Linked DNA regions of Homo sapiens: region 2 is linked to region 1. Evidence: promoter capture Hi-C in human tissues and cell types (Jung and others, 2019). All regions are on one chromosome and are shown on one strand. The core of a region is centred on a gene start or on the middle of the fragment in contact, and the rest is flanking DNA. Distances in the headings are between cores, read along the strand shown.

The links. Contacts are between HindIII fragments. The study calls those that stand out against the background at their distance.
Region 2: a fragment that was not itself captured here is called in contact with the fragment with the promoter of RPP38 in region 1 in 1 of the 25 tissues and cell types used here (mesenchymal stem cells).

The regions. Positions count from the first base shown.
Region 1 is chr10:15,095,843-15,099,317 of GRCh38, forward strand. It overlaps RPP38 (ribonuclease P/MRP subunit p38), which reads left to right and starts at 1,513. Exons shown (of 3, transcript NM_183005.5): 1 at 1,513-1,924. RPP38-DT (RPP38 divergent transcript) reads right to left here and starts at 1,477. Exons shown (of 2, transcript NR_160789.1): 1 at 1,245-1,477; 2 at 1-1,023. RefSeq lists enhancers at 1,058-1,629, 1,931-2,020, 2,081-2,220 and a silencer at 1,431-1,790. The HindIII fragment of the contact is 8,419 bases long and covers 1-3,193 here.
Region 2 is chr10:14,790,357-14,793,831 of GRCh38, forward strand. No RefSeq gene overlaps it. Among named protein-coding and RNA genes, the nearest start is that of FAM107B, 17 kb to the left of the region's middle. The HindIII fragment of the contact is 5,190 bases long and covers 1-3,475 here.

The DNA.
Region 1 (3,475 bases), core at 263-2,762:
AAACCTGTTCTCACAAACTCACTGTCATCTCTTTTTAATCTTTCTAATTGTGATAAAAATCATACTGCACTTTACCCTGTGTAACCTCCAATGATCTTTGACCAAAAGCCAAATCTTTTTTTTGTTGTGTTTACTTATGGACAGTTAGGTTCTACATAGGTACTTAAACATGAAAATTGAAATCATAGAGGCTGGGCACAGTAGCTCATGCCTGTAATCCCAGCACTTTGGAAGGCCGAGGTGGGCGGATCACCTGAGGTCAGGAGTTCGAGACCAGCCTGACTAACATGGTGAAACACCGTCTGTACTAAAAATACAAAAATTAGCTGGGCTGGTGGCCCGTGCCTGTAACCCCAGCTACTCCGGAGGCTGAGGCAGGAGAATCACCTGAACCTGTGAGGCGCTGGCTGGAGTGAGCCAGGTTCGCGCCATTGCACTCCAGCCTGGGCAACAAGGGCAAAACTCTGTCTCAACAACAATAATAATAATAAATAAAAGAAAGAAATCACAGAAACTATACCAGAAAATAGGATACAAAACCAACAGTGAGGAGATTGAGAAAAGGAGGCAGATACGTAAAGAGGAAAAGGAAGGGGGCCCAAGTAAGGCCGGAAAAAGCGGGGAGAAGGAGGAGGCTCATTAGGTCAGAAGCAACCTGCCGTCTTCTAAGTTCTGGCCAAGGGTAGATCAACAGATCCAGATTCCTGAGCTTTAAAATGTTATTCGGCCGCTTCATCACTTGTCCCCGACTTTGCAGCGACTCCGATGGTAGCCTGAGTCTCCATTGCTTGGAGCAGCCACAGTGGACACTGGACGGGATATTCTGTGCAGCTGTTGCTGAACTCAAGGCAACTCTTACTGCCTTTCTCTTTTCGGGCTCAAGATTCCCTGCATTATTGCCCATAGGCATGTGTTTTACCCCATACTCCTTCTCCCTTTTATCTTGATTTTCGCGGTGCTGGGGAGTCTGCAGGGATTCCATGGCGACGGGCTCACTGGGACAGGGGCTGGGGTTGTGCGTCCCTGAGGCAAGGCAAATACAGAAAAGCGAATAGAGACAGAGGGCTAAGATTCCAAAGCACTGAAAGGTAGAAACTGGGTTAGAAGAGAGAGGGGAGCACAAACGCCCGGAGAGAGCGAGCCCTCGGGATACCATTGGCTATAGGCTGGCCTCCGAACAACTGGACGGTCCAAGTCCTGAGCGTCTGGTTACCCGGGCAACCGCATGGTCTCGCGATACATACCTCGCGCCTGCGCACTGCCCCTGTAGCGGGGGTGGGGGGACCCGGTCCGGAGACTCCACCCCGGGGCCTAAACTCGAGTCTAAAAGATTGGGCCTCGTTGTGTCGTTTCCGGGTCGCGCGACGCTGTGGGCCGCTTTCCCCTCTCCGGAGTGACCTAACACAGGATAACGAAACCTGCACTGCTCCGAGCGCTTCCTCCCCGGCCCGTCGCGTCTGCGAGGCGAGGCCGGGAGGCGAGGGCTCTGCGCACGCGCGGCGCAGGCGCACTGGGCGCCGGTGCTGTTGCCTTCAGGTGACCACGGATTCGCCATCGTGAGTTCCAGGTGGGCGCGCGGGGCCCACGTAGGGCAGGAGGCCAGCCCCGGGGGGATCGGGCCCGGGACTCTGCGGAATCTGGAGGCCGAAGCCCGCGCGCACGCAGGGTCTCTGCTGCTTCCCCAACGCCTGTTGCGTGGCCGCAGGACCCGCCGCCCTCCCGGTTGGGCCGCCCAGTCCCGGGCCGGGCGCGTGCACCCAGAGCTTCCGCGTTTCTAGTCCGGCTCCTCTGCTGGATTGCAGCGCCGGCTGGGCACCAGGAGTACAAAGCGAAAACCCCCGCCGGCCCTTCTGTTCTCCACGGTCTCCAAGGAGACACGGACAACAGAACAACACTTCCGTGTGCTAAATAGTAAAGCACCAAGGTACTCGATCCAGGGGCGGCGTGCAGTGGGGAGGTGAGCTTTGGGTCGGCCGTCGCCCCTCGGCTACCGGCGGGATCCAGAAACCGGGAGTCACCACCAATACCGTTCTCAACTTTACTTCCAGCTGGTCACTACTGTGTCGGGAGATTCTACCTTCTTTTCCGACTAACATGTATTTTTCTCCAGTCCTTTCTGCGGCGTCTCTAGTGCAGGCCACCGTCATTTCTAACCTGGACGACTCCAGGAGCGTCTTTGCTGCTCGGGGACTCTTCCTTTGCCCAGATCCACAAAGATCTATAACGTCTTTCTAATCACGACACCTCTGCTTTAGATGTTAAAGTTGCTTCACACTGGAACGCTTGCAAAGGTCTTCATTATCTGGTCCTTACCCACCTTTCCTAGTTTCTCACCGCTTTCTCTAGCATCTCTGCCCCAGCCACATTGAACTTATTTGAACGTGTTTTTTTTTTTTTTTTTTTTTTTGAGACATAGCAGTCGCCCAGGCTGGAGTGCAGTGGCGCGATTCCGGCTCACTGCAACCTCCGCCTGCCGGGTTCAAGCGATTCTCCTGCCTCAGCCTCCCGAGTAGCTGGGACTACAGGCGCCTGCCACCACGCCCGGCTAATTTTCGTATTTTTAGTAGAGACGGGTCACCACGTTGGTCAGGCTAGTCTCGATCTACTGACCTCAAGTGATCCGCCCGCCTGGGCTTCCCAAAGTGCTGGGATTACAGGCGTGAGCCACCTCGCCAGCCAACTTATTTCTTTTAATACTGAGATACCTTTCTTTACTCCATACTTCCTTTGGTAGGCATTGTTTAGATGTAGGTTAAGAGGTCCGGCCCGGCGCGGTGGCTCACGCCTGTAGTCCCAGCACTTTGGGAGGCCGAGGCGGGCGGATCACAAAGTCAGGAGATCGAGACCATCCTGGCCAACATGGTGAAACCCCGTCTCTACTAAAAATACAAGAATTAGCCGGGCGTGATGGCCCGTGCCTGTAGTCCCAGCTACTCGGGAGTCTGAGGCAGGAGAATCGCTTGAACCCTGGAGGCGGAGGATGCAGTGAGCCGAGATTGTGCCACTGCACTTCAGCCTGGCGACAGAATGAGACTCCGTCTCAAAAAAAAAAAAAAAAAAAAAAGTTCCTCTGTGAGGACTGCCTTTTCCCACCCCCCTCAACTAAGCTAGGCCTCTGCTGGATGTTCCCTAAGCATACTGTTCCCTGACCTTCATGTGCATCAGGCTTTATTGTATAATTACTTGCTAATATTTTTTCCTCGTGGACTCTAAGCTCATGAGGTCTGTGAGAAAAAATACTTAATCTTTATGGCCTGGCACATCGTGGATAATCGATAAATATTTGTTGAAGAAAGGAAGGGGCCTGCGGCTGAGGGTGGGAGTGGTATTCCAGGCAGAGGGACTAATGTGTATAAAGACTTGCAGGTGGGAAAATGCTGGCCTCATTAAATAGTATGTTGTTCGGTGTTGAGGACTTGTGCTTGGTGGGGCCTAAGGAGAAAGAGGGCCTAAGTGGGAGATTGAGCTGGAGTGT
Region 2 (3,475 bases), core at 588-3,087, 310 kb before region 1:
TTAAGTTACAGTTCAGCTGGGCACAGCGGCTTGCACCTGTAATCCCAGCACTTTGTGAGGCCAAGTTAGAAAGATTGCCCAGAAGTTCGAGACCAGGGAATGATAGGAAAATCCTATCTTTACCAAAAGTAAAAAAAAAAAAAAGATTGCCAGGAGTGGTAGTATGTGCCTGTAGCTCTACCAGCTACTCTAGGAGGCTGAGGTGGGAGGATTGCTTGAGCCCAGGAGGTCAAGGCTGCAGTAAGACAAGATTGCACCTGCACTCCATCCTAGGTGACAGAGTAAGACCCTGTCTCAAAAAAAAAAAAAATTACAATTTACATACAACTAAAATTTTCCAATTTGAAGTGTTTGTTTTGAGTTGTGATAAATGACGGAAATCACATCGCCACCACCCCAATTGAGATACAAAATGTTATCATCATCGTCAAAACTTCCCTTATGCCTCTTGTCAGCTAATCTCCTAATCCCATGCCTTGGCTCTGGCAACCACTGATCTTTCTGTAGATATAGTCTTGCCTTTTCTACAATTCCATAACAATGGAATCATGTAATATATAGTCTTCTGTGCCTAGCTTTTCATTTAGCTTTTGAGATTCATCATGTTGTTTGATCAGTGGTTTTCTTTCTTTTTATCGGTCAGTAGGATTCCATTGTTTAGGTACGCTACAATTTGTTTACCTGTTCACCAGATAATAGCATTTTAGTTGTTTTTCCTCATGGATGTCTAATTCTTCTAGCATCATTTGTTGGAAAGACTATTCTTTCTCCTTTGAATTCTGTTGGCATTTTTGTGAAAAATCAATTGACCACGCGTGTTTGAGTCTCTTTCTGGACTCATCTCTGTTCCGTTGATCTGTGTGTCTAAATTTATGCCAATACCACACTGTCTTGATGACTGTAGCTTTAAAATAAGTCTTGAAATGAGGTAGTGAGAGTCCTCCCACTTTGTTCTTTATTTTCAACATTATTTTGTCCACTCTAGGTCCTTTACAATTACATACAAATGTACAATCAGCCTGTCAATTTCTACCAAAAACATTCTCCCAGGATTTTGATTGGAATTTGCTTTGTAATTATTTTATGAGATGGTCAGTCACAAGAGGAGAGCCAGGCAAAGCTTAGCAAAACAATGTTTATTATGTTCACAGGTCCTGGAGACAGGAGGCTATACAGGGCCACTTGGGAAAGACACCAGAGTGATCAGGCACAAAACACAGGAGCCAGGGGAAAGTTGAGGCCACTGCTGTTAGTAGGGCTTCCCCAGGAAAGGCAAGACATGGCAGGGTGCACTGTTTAGGGTTGGCTAGTTTGATGAATTTGAGCAGCTTTGGGCTGCAGGAGTGGTCTCTAGCTGCCTGGTCCCTGGACCCAGGATGATCAAGGTAGAGGAATATTGTTTCCTGGGTATATGGTCTAAATAAAAGAAGTGTGGCTCTGGGTTAATTAGTTTGCATATCAAAAGTGTGCTCCTAGCCAGGCGTGGTGGCTCACATCCATAATCCCAGCATTTTTGGAAGCCAAGGTGGGCGGATCACTTGAGGCCAGGAGTTTGAGACCAGCCTGGCCAACATGGTGAGACCCTGTCTGTACTAAAAATACAAAAATTAGCCGGCATGGTGGTGTACATCTGTAATCCCAGCTACTCAGGAGGCTGATGAGGCACGAGAATTGCTTGAACCAGGAAGGCAGAGGCTGCAGTGAGCCAAGATCATGCCACTGCACTCCAGCCTGGGTAATAGAGTGAGACTCCGTCTCAAAAAAAAAAAGTGCTGCTAACTGAGCCTTTTGATATTTTTTAAGAATTGGCTGGCCCTGAGGGAGTCAGTCTTTCCCTTGCCTGAACCTTTTTTAAAATATGTCATGACATCATAACATACAGAAAATTTAAAAATATTTACAATACAGAATTTCACTGAATCTGTAGATAGATTTGGGGGGTTTAGTAGGCTAGCTAAATAATGGCCCCAAAGTCTCATGTCTTTATCCCTGGAATCTCCAAATGTGACCTTCTATGGCAAAGACTTTGCAGGTATGATTATGTTAAAGATCCTGAGATGGGGGATTATCCCGCATTATCCAAGTGGGCCCTAAAGGCAACTACACGTATCTTTGCAACAGGGAGGCAAACCTTTCACCAAAACCTTTCACCTGTACTGTTCCATCTCCTCAAACATGTGACTCTCTCAGCCGGGTGCTGTGGCTCACGCCTGTAATACCGGCACTTTGGGAAGCCGAGGCGGGTGGATTACCTGAGGTCAGGAGTTCGAGACCAGCCTGACCAACATAGAGAAACCCTGTCTCTACTAAAAATACAAAATTAGCCAGGAATGGTGGTGCATGCCTGTAATCCCAGCTACTTGGGAGGCTGAGGCAAGAGAATCGCTTGAACCCGGGAGGTGGAGGTTGCAGTGAGCTGAGATCACACTATTGCACTCCAGCCTGGGCAACAAGAGGGAAACTCCATCTCAAAAAAACAAACAAAAAATAAATGTGATTCTCTCAATTATCTGCTGACTGCTGATACGCCTCCTGCTCTTCACTCACTCTCTACGGCCATTTTCTATCACCATTTAAAACTGCTTGTCAGTGGCCGGGCGCGGTGGCTCAAGCCTGTAATCCCAGCACTTTGGGAGGCCGAGGTGGGCGGATCACGAGGTCAGGAGATCGAGACCATCCCGGCTAAAATGGTGAAACCCCGTCTCTACTAAAAATACAAAAAATTAGCCGGGCGTAGTGGCGGGCCCCTGTAGTCCCAGCTACTTGGGAGGCTGAGGCAGGAGAATGGCGTGAACCCGGGAGGCGGAGCTTGCAGTGAGCCGAGATCCCGCCACTGCACTCCTGCCTGGGCAACAGAGCGAGACTCCGTCTCAAAAAAAAAAAAAAAACTGCTTGTCATCCCCATGAATGAATAAATTCAAAATCTTACTCTTTATTTTCTTAGTAGTAATGTACCTTTTTCTAAATTTGTCTCGGGTATCCAGGATTTAAATATATCTTTGTGTTTGAAACAAGGAGAAGGAAATAAAGGGCATTCAATTAGGAAAAGAGGAAGTCAAATTGTCCCTGTTTGCAGGTGACATGATTGTATATCTAGAAAACCCCATCATCTCAGCCCAAAATCTCCTTAAGCTGATAAGCAACTTCAGCAAAGTCTCAGGATAATAAATCAATGTGCAAAAATCACAAGCATTCTTATACACAAATAACAGACAAACAGAGAGCCAAATCATGAGTGAACTCCCATTCACAATTGCTTCAAAGAGAATAAAATACCTAGGAATCCAACTTAAAAGGGATGTGAAGGACCTCTTCAAGGAGAACTACAAACCACTGCTCAAGGAAATAAAAGAGGATACAAAGAAATGGAAGAACATTCCATGCTCATGGGTAGGAAGAATCAATATCGTGAAAATGGCCATACTGCCCAAGGTAATTTATAGATTCAATGCCATCCCCATCAAGCTACCAATGA